3 separate regions of the Homo sapiens genome follow, and regions 2 and 3 are each linked to region 1. The links are contacts of gene promoters, found by promoter capture Hi-C in blood cells and fetal thymus (Javierre and others, 2016). All regions are on one chromosome and are shown on one strand. Each heading gives the region's core, a stretch centred on a gene start or on the middle of the fragment in contact. The rest is flanking DNA. Distances are from core to core; before and after follow the strand shown. Region 1 holds the start of TRPM8 (transient receptor potential cation channel subfamily M member 8). Region 2 holds the start of UGT1A3 (UDP glucuronosyltransferase family 1 member A3). Region 3 holds the start of UGT1A6 (UDP glucuronosyltransferase family 1 member A6).

Region 1 (2,821 bases), core at 83-2,582:
ATTATCCTGTTTTTCTAATTGCCTCTATCAGCCAAATTTTTTTCAGTTTGAATAGATGGATGAAAACTAGGAAAATAGCAAAAGCCAGTGGAGGCTCCCGAAGTCATTGACCCCAAGGTATCCTGCTCCAAAAAGTAGAAGTGAGAAACAGGAGGTAGATACAGGCAGCAGGTGATGCTCCAAGATGCTATTTGCTGAGACCCTCTTAGAATAAGAGGAAAAGCAGGGGTCCCTATGCAGCCTGGACCCCTACTGTCTTCACAGGTGCCAAGAATGATATCAGTTCTTAGGCAAAACAAAGATAGTGATAATTATTATTATAAATTGTAATGTAATTATAATTTATAATGTAATTATATTATTTCTATAACAATTATATTATTTGTAATATAATTATAAATATCTTATTAATAAATAATAATAAACAGCTTTTTTCCAAATTATAAATAAATATGCATCCAAAGTCACAACCTTGGAAGTAAGTCCTTTGCACTGTCAAGATTTTGACAAGCTAAAACTTCTCTCATGATCAGTATCTTTGTATTAGCACATATAGAATAGTCTTAAGGAATAACCATTTCCTTATGTTCAGCTCAAGAATCCTAACACTGAAAAAGTCAGCACTGGCAATAATGGATTGAAAATTAAATGGAAATAAAACCTTTAATTATTCATCCAGCCCTTCAGTGTTTCTCTCTTGCTTATAAATAATACAAATGATGAGCCTGTTTCAACAGGCTGGAAGAACGGAAGGAAACACAGTATGTAAAAACAAGCTAAATATACCCGCTCCTTTCATTATCAAAGAATATTTACTATTTGAATGCATTATTTCTTGATGTTAATTTACATTTCACCATAGTCTTGATTCAAGAAAAAACTTGTTTTATTATGTTCCCAATAGGATTGCTTCAGATAGTCAGTTGCAGAGTTCAGATGCCAGTGAATTTTTCATTAAAGCTCATTTAGGGAGTTTCTAACTCCTTCAATCAGAAACAGAAAACTGTAATTATATTTAAAGTCATTCAAAAATTCAGCAAATAATTCTACATTTCTAAATAAATCTAAGTGAGGATTAGATATATCTGTGAACCCGCATTTGCTTATGCCCACAACACTTTGAGGAATTTAAATTTTTGTCTTCCTTTAGTTTCAAATCTTCATAGAAAAACTAAATGATGCCCCTCCCAGAGACACAAACTCGTACTATTCTACAAGTTACAGCAATGGCAACATTTAAGGAGAAGCAAAAAGCAAAAGTTGATGACATACCCTAAGTGACGGTTTTTGTCAAGCAGGATTTTCTTTCACCCAAGGATCCTGCTGGTCTCTCCCCACAGGAGGAGGAAAGCTTTTATAACTGGAATCTTCTTAGCCCCGCCTTCTTCTCTGAGGTTCTTTTAAGCAGAGGAACAAAAAACTTAAGCCGCTGAAATTGCAAGAAGACTCCTAAAGCCTCCAAGCATAGCAGCAATTTAGCAGTGGAATACGAGTAGGGAATGGATAATTAGTGAACATGGTATTTTAAATGCTAATAAAGAAATGATACCAAATTCCTGCTCTTAGCTTGACAATAACACCATAGTATGAAATCATACTAATACTTAATTTCTGCAATTAATGGCACATTTTAAAAACCACAAATAAAATGGGAAATGCTCATTATAGAAAGTGATGACAAGATTAATTAATAAATTAAAAGCTCTTAATTAAGATTAGGAAAAAAATTATTAAATAGAGGAAATTTAACCAACATTGCTTTTTTGCAGATTTTGTGAACTTTCCTCATACCAACTAAATGCAGTATTGGGCCAGGCAAGAGGGCATCATGGAGGTGAGCAAATCCAGCTTCATTAATTTACAGCTATTTCCTGTCCCCTTTAAACTACACTTTGGAAGAGCTCTCCTCGAAGAAATAAGTAACAATTGTCAGTGGGCAACTTTCGGTCATTTTACTTAAATCACGTGCCACAAACATAACAGTTATATTATAACTAATGTTCCTCTGTTTTGGCCATTATTTCTATTTTATTTTCATATGAAGCATATGTCATAGAGAAATACAAATAGGATAGTGTATTTCAGGAACTGATTGCACAAGACATACACTTGCAAAAAGGTTAGAGATGAAAGAGAAGGAGTGTGAAGGGGTTTTTTGCAAAGGCAGAGAGATTTGAGCAAGGTCTGAAAGGAAGGATAGGGTTGTAGTGATAACTCCTGCAGAAAGCATGTTCAATTCAAGAAGAAAACCCCCTTAACAAAGAGAGACAAAAGACTCCAGACAGAGGTCTCAAACTCAAATATTCCAAGGCTCAGACAGGTCATAAAGATGAAGGGAGCAGCCAAGTGTTAGGTAGTAAGTAGGGAAGGGTGGGGGCTGTGGAAAACTGGAAATGATAGATTTGAATGAGGACCCGTGAGAGAAGAGATCCAGCTAGAAATAGAGAGAGAGAATCAGAGAAATCTCAGAATTACTCTAAATATGGGTCCTAGGACTAAAAACTCCCATACCCAGCATGGTCCCCAAGCACATATATAGCACTGCACAGGGGAGCAAGTCCATCTGAGGAGCGGAGCAGCAAAATGAGCTTTTTAGCTGTTAGAAATATTGAGCCAGCTGGGTGCAGTGGCTCATGCCTGTAATCCCAGCACTTTGGGAGGCTGAGGCGGGCCGATTGCTTGATGTCAGGGGTTCAAGACCAGCCTGGGCAACATGGCAAAACCCTGTCTCTACTAAAAATACAAAAATTAGCCAGGTGTGGTGGCACGTGCCTGTAATCCCAGCTACTCAGGAGGCTGAGACATGAGAATCCCTTGAACC
Region 2 (3,057 bases), core at 503-3,002, 190 kb after region 1:
ATCACTGTCCCCAGCTTCACTGGGCTTATAGATTCACAGTCTTATCTCCTCCCTAGCCCCTTCCGCCATTTCTTGATAATTTCAGCATTCCAAGTAGAAGAATCATTTGAGATGCAACCATTACTTTGCCTTCCGAACTCTGAGATGTCCCCACATCATGCACCAGACCCCAAATCCTGACCAGAAAATCTCTTGACAGCACAGATCCCTGTCTGGAAACTGAACTTCGTGTGTCATTCTCTAATCACAGACATCCATCCCAACTTCATTGCCCCACTTCCACTGAGTCAACCTCTCTGACACTTCTATTTCATGTGAGTGCCTAGGTCTCCTGTGGTCACCTGTCTATCATTTGCAAGATGGGACAACTAAAAATTATCATGTCAACAATTGTAATTTACTGTTGCATCATCTTTCCCCTGAAAATCATGCTAGCAAAAAATCCAGGATGGATCAGTTCCAAACGTAGTGTCCCTGTTCCTGCCAAGCTGAAGGACATGCACAACCATGAAGATGGTGCCTTTACAAACCAACAGTCTCTATGAGTCACACCAGTCCTTGTCCATCCTTTTACAAACATTCGTGTCTACTTCCTCTTCCTCTCAGTGACCATTTAAAACCTGAAATACGCTACTAGAGACCCCTTAACAGTTTATCTCACTGAAGGCTATTATGACAAGGAGAAGCAGAAATGAAATATTTGGAAAGATAAGTAAATATGGAAGCAATTTTAAATAAATACATTTTTTTAAAAAGTGTTTTGCCTGGAACATTGATTGGATGAAGGCACCAATACAGACCTGAGATAGTGGCTTCCTGTTGGCACAGTTGATGCCCCCAATGAAGACCATGTTGGGCATGATTGGCCTGGGGTAGTCCATCACAAAGTCCCCTCGGAACAGCCACACAGATGCATGACTGAGAATATCCACCACTGACACCTCTCTCTGAAAAAGCTCAGAGGCAAGGCTTGCATAAGGAGCAGAAAAAGCATGGCAAATGTAGGACAGGGCCAGAGGGTAGAGCATGTTCTTGACCCTTTGCATGAATGTCATGTGGTCTGAATTGGTTGTTAGTAATCTAGGAATATAGGAGGAAGGGTTTGGACACTGTGTGCCCTTAAAGTCTAAATCACATGGAATGTTCCTCAAAAAAAACACAGTAGGAATCGACAGGTACTTAGCCAGCACTGCCGCGCAGAGGTTAACGGGGTCTGTTAAAACCACATCAAAGGAAGTAGCATTCAGGTGCCTGATCAGGGCCTCATTATGTAGTAGCTCCACACAAGACCTATGATAGACCAAAGACATATTGTTCAACATTGCCATACTTCTGAAAAATTTCTTCAGAAAATGTTCTGTTTCAAAGTACAGTTGAGTGTGGCCCAGCACATGGCGATCAAATTCATCCTGGGTCCACGAAATGGCATAGGTTGTCAGGGTGAAAAAGTTCTCTTCTTTGATGTGCATATTCACCTCTGGGGTGAGGACCACTGCCTGGTGGCCTCTGGCATGGAGCTCCCGCAAGACCTCCCGCATGCTGAGCCAGTGGCTGCCATCAATGGGCACCACCAACACCTTTCCACTCTCAGCCCAGGGCTGGACACTGAGGAGAAGCAGCAGTCCTGTGGCCAGCCACGGCAGGGGAACCTGGAGTCCTGTGGCCATCTCAGCAGAAGACACGGACAGCTGACTGTCCACCCCACGCTGTGCCTGCTACATTTGCTTTCTTCATCTTAATTACCTTGTCACTGAGCCACTTAGCAAATCAACGTGTAATTGGAAGACAGAGTGCCCTCCTCTAGTTAATTATTAACCATTAATCTATCACTGTTTTTCACTGTGGGCCCCACCCTGGAAAAGACCGATCATGACTATCTTGAAAAACACGTCTGACCCTGTGCTCACTCTGGGGAACATCCAAGTTCAAGCTCTTGTTTCTCATCCAATTCCCAACACAAGGCTGTGAACACCCATTTCATGTCACTGTCTCCTACTTCTCTGTTAACCATGTTTATCAGGCAGCAGCTGAGGTCTGAGGAGTCACCATTGCCCTAGCCCCCAGTCATATGCTCTCTGCTGGATGTGACCCTATTTGCTAACCCTTGAAACTTTCTTCTCATGTATGAGTAACGCAGCGCATCCAAAAACCATACAACATTGCTAAGCCAGCTTTCTCTGAACAGCGTGGAGGCTGGCTATGTGGTTTTGGTCGTTTTTCGCACCAGGATATTTCTTGTAAGGATCAGAGAGGACTCTCTCTGAAGTGGCTGTCAATATAGAAAAAGCTGCAGGGAGGCTGAGCTCAAGATGTGATGATCAGATTCTTGGGAAGACTTTGTTGAGGATTCTCCATATACACCATGGAAGAAGAGGTGCTGCTATCTAAAGCACACATGGGCAAGACAACCCTAGCAAAGACCCATGGTGGGTTCAGGGAGCTCCTGCTCACCAAGGGACTGGGGGAGCTGGAGCCTGGCCTCAGATCTTGCACAGTCTGAATTCCTCTTCTGAATGCCGAAGGCTCCAGTCTTTATTTCAGTCATCCAGGCCTTTATTTCATCCTGAAGATTATGGTCAGGCTCTTCTCCAAGTCAATCCAGCACCAAGTTCTGATAAGAATGGTTCCTCCAGAACAGAATGGGCTGCACAATTTGTGGGGGCCCTAGTCCAAATTTCAAGATGGAGAATTAAATATGTGCCTTTCTAAAGGAGAGACCCTGAGCACTCACAAGGGCCTCAAGCCCAATGAGGCTTATCCTACTCCAGAAAGTCACTCCCACATGTGCTGTGCTCACAAGATTGCTGATGCCACCTTGTCCTGGTCACCTCAGGATGATGTGGGCAGGCTGTCTGGGGTGTGCACTTTCTATCTCACTGCCCCTGTGTCTTCTTGCCTGGCCGTGTCTGCCATTGCTGGTGAGGCTGAGGCTTCCCTTAGGGAGGAAATTACTCCACATTGATAACAGATTCCACCTTTGGACAGAACCCATGGGACAGGCAGTGAATGGAAGCGTCTACTGGGGGACACCCAGCTCAAGGGCAGCACACGCAGGAT
Region 3 (2,874 bases), core at 362-2,861, 220 kb after region 1:
ATCTGTAAACACTTGTCTTAGGTCAGAGGCCATACCCCTTTTGCTGAAAAGGCCAGTCAGTAAATGTGTAGGCTTTGCAGACCAAATACTTCTGTGGCACATATTCTTCATTGTTAAATTGTTTTAAAACTACAAAAACCATTCTTAGCTCTGGGCCATATAAAAACAGGTCTCAACATAAAAGGAAAAAAAAAAACAAAAAACAGGCCTTTGGGCAGATTGGGCTCACAGGCTGTAGTTCGCTGGTCCCTGGCTCAAGGTCCAGAGACAAAGCATGGGACAGAGTTGGGAAAATGGATTTTAACCTGGACCTGTTCCCTTAGTCAAGCCTTCACCTCTGTTTGAACTGGGACATTTCTAAGGCTCATTCAATGAGTATGTGACTGTCCCAGATTATCCAACTAAGCAAATCTCCTACTCTTGCCAAGCATGAGCCCTGTCTTCATCCGAATGCCTCTGTATCACTTCAGCCTCAGGTCTCCTATGTGTTCCCGCTGCTCCGAGCCGGGTATCACTTCCCCCCACCGTTTCTCCAGGAAATCCTCCAAGGGACAGTCGGCTCAAGGAGCCAAATGAGTGAGGGAGGACAGAGCCTGGAAGAAACAAGGCAGTCCAAAAGAAATAAACCCACCAACCTGAGACAAGTCTTTCCTCTTCTTACAGTTGATACCTCCAATGAAGACCATGTTGGGCATGACCGGCCTAGGATATTCAAGCACAAAGTCATATCTTAACAGCCAAACAGAGACCTTCTGATATAAGGTGATTATATCCACATCTCTCTTGAGGACAGCTGATGCGAGTTCTTCATACTTTGAAAACAGACAATAAAATAGATAGGGCTCCAACAAATTAACAAGGAAGTTGGCCACTCGTTGGGAAAAAGTCATGTGGTCTGAAAACTTTGTGTAGCACCTGGGAATGTAGGACACAGGGTCTGGGCTTCTGCTGAATGTATGCTCCAGGGAACACGGAAAACCCCTGAAGAGGTACACAGATGGTAGGCCCAAATACTCAGCCAGGATCACCCCACAGGGTAAGGCTGGGTCTGTGAAAAGAGCATCAAACTTGCTCTCCTTAAAGAAGTTCAGGGTGTCCCTGTCCTGCAGGAGGCTCTGGCAGTTGATGAAGTACAGGCCAATAACAATCATGTTATTCCTGTACTCTGTCTGAGGAGCAGTTAGGAATGATCGCTCAGCAAAGTGATTGTTTCCAAATGATTGGTAACGGTTCTTCAGCTCTTCTTGGTCATACGGCACTGGATAGATTTTTCTTGTGTAGTATTTGGATTCTTTCAAAAGCAAATTAACTTCAGGCACCACCACTACAATCTCATGACCCCGGTCACTGAGAACCTCAACTATATCCTTCATACTAAGCCAGTGGCTTCCGTCCTGAGGGACCACCAGCAGCTTGTCACCTACAACCATGCCCCAAAGTGCTAAGAAGAAAACCCCTGCAGAAATTCTCTGAAATGAGCGAAGGAGGCAGGCCATCCTGGAAAGAGTTAAAGTAACAACGGTAATAAAGAGTTTTCACTCTCCAAATCACAGGGCTCCTAGGTATTTTCCCTAAACTAACCACTGCTTTTCACAGGTCCTGTCTACCTCTCCCTTGCTCTGAATTTTACCCTTTGATATGTAAGAACCCAAATTAATATTTAACCATTTTAATCACATGGTTAATATGAACCAACTATGGCCGTGTCAGCTTTCACCTGAGCTTCTGGGTGTTTCTCTTCAGCTCCACAAGTCTGCTTCTCCCTCTCTGAAAAGTTATAGCAACACTTTGAAGATGACTTGGAGAGACCCCTGAGGACCCCCTGCCAATTCTCTATCCCGAACTTGCTGGATTCCTCATCATTGACGTTGTCTGTTATGTCCATGATGTGCGGGAATTTTTCTTGCACACGGACCTATTCTCTAACACCAGCTGGGTATCCTACAATTCAATTCCATTCTGAACTGAATTCTGAGTTAGCACGGACCCCACAGGTTAAGGGCTCAGTCCTACAAGACTGCCCTCACTTCAGACACCAATTGCAAGTAGTAGGTCCCCAGGTTACCCACAACTTCTGTCTGACTTGGCAAAAATCAGAGGTTCACACACCCTCTTTCTTGGAGTCAATCATTTGCTAGAATGGCTCACAGAACTGAAGAAAACAGTTTATTTACTAGGTTTGGTTTATTACAAAGGATATTGCAAACAATACGGATGAATAGCCAGAGGAAAAAGTACAAAGAACAAGATATGGGGGTATGGCCATGGAGCCCCATCTGCCATCTCTGGGTGCCCCACCCTCCACACCTTCAGCAACCTGAAAGCTCTCTGAACCCTGCCCTTCTGAGTTTTTATGTAGGCTTCCATACATAGTAGGCATGATTGATTAGATTGTTGCCCATCGGTGATCAAATCAATCTTCAATCTCTCTCTCCTTTCTTCCCTCTAATCGCAAGGGTTTTGTTCCCTGGCAACTAGCCCTCATCCTTAGAGACTTTACATCTCCTTTACATAAACTTAGGTGTGATCGAAAGGGATCTGTTTTGAATAACAAAAGATTCTTTGTTCACGTTTATCGCTCCCACCACTTATGGTTTCAGGAGCTGTGTCCAGGAAACAAAGACAAACATATATTTCTTATTATACATCACAATATAACAACATTCAAACTGTTACTTGCCTTTAGGAAATTAAGATTTGAGAAGTATAAGTCTAGCCAGTACGTGGTGAGAATCCTAGAGCAGGAGTCAGAAAGCCTGGTATCTGCTTCTGGCCCAGCCACCCATCTGCCAGGGGAGTGACTCCTCTCCTGAGCTTCAGGTTTCTCAACTGAGGCCCAGAAAGGGAGGGTCACACTGGCCCTGCCTGCTAACC

What was found. Contacts are between HindIII fragments. The CHiCAGO score rates a contact against its expected background, and 5 or more counts as called.
Region 2: the fragment with the promoter of UGT1A3 here is called in contact with the fragment with the promoter of TRPM8 in region 1 in 4 of 17 cell types (endothelial precursors, neutrophils, total CD8 T cells and 1 more); the score reaches 8.4 in endothelial precursors.
Region 3: a contact is called between the fragment with the promoter of UGT1A6 here and the fragment with the promoter of TRPM8 in region 1, in 3 of 17 cell types (M2 macrophages, M1 macrophages and endothelial precursors). The highest score is 6.7, in M2 macrophages.

The regions. Positions count from the first base shown.
Region 1 is chr2:233,915,884-233,918,704 of GRCh38, reverse strand. TRPM8 (transient receptor potential cation channel subfamily M member 8) reads right to left here and starts at 1,332. Exons shown (of 26, transcript NM_024080.5): 1 at 1,273-1,332. The HindIII fragment of the contact is 1,520 bases long and covers 1-1,353 here.
Region 2 is chr2:233,727,737-233,730,793 of GRCh38, reverse strand. UGT1A3 (UDP glucuronosyltransferase family 1 member A3) reads right to left here and starts at 1,752. Exons shown (of 5, transcript NM_019093.4): 1 at 801-1,752. The coding sequence starts at 1,667. All of the region lies in intron 1 of UGT1A8 (UDP glucuronosyltransferase family 1 member A8), which reads right to left. All of the region lies in intron 1 of UGT1A10 (UDP glucuronosyltransferase family 1 member A10), which reads right to left. The region is part of intron 1 of UGT1A9 (UDP glucuronosyltransferase family 1 member A9); the gene reads right to left. It also overlaps UGT1A7, UGT1A6, UGT1A5, UGT1A4 and UGT1A. The HindIII fragment of the contact is 4,368 bases long and covers 1-3,057 here.
Region 3 is chr2:233,691,627-233,694,500 of GRCh38, reverse strand. It overlaps UGT1A6 (UDP glucuronosyltransferase family 1 member A6), which reads right to left and starts at 1,611. Exons shown (of 5, transcript NM_001072.4): 1 at 636-1,611. The coding sequence starts at 1,496. All of the region lies in intron 1 of UGT1A8 (UDP glucuronosyltransferase family 1 member A8), which reads right to left. All of the region lies in intron 1 of UGT1A10 (UDP glucuronosyltransferase family 1 member A10), which reads right to left. All of the region lies in intron 1 of UGT1A9 (UDP glucuronosyltransferase family 1 member A9), which reads right to left. It also overlaps UGT1A7 and UGT1A. RefSeq lists enhancers at 2,259-2,865, 2,866-2,874. The HindIII fragment of the contact is 26,798 bases long and covers 1-2,874 here.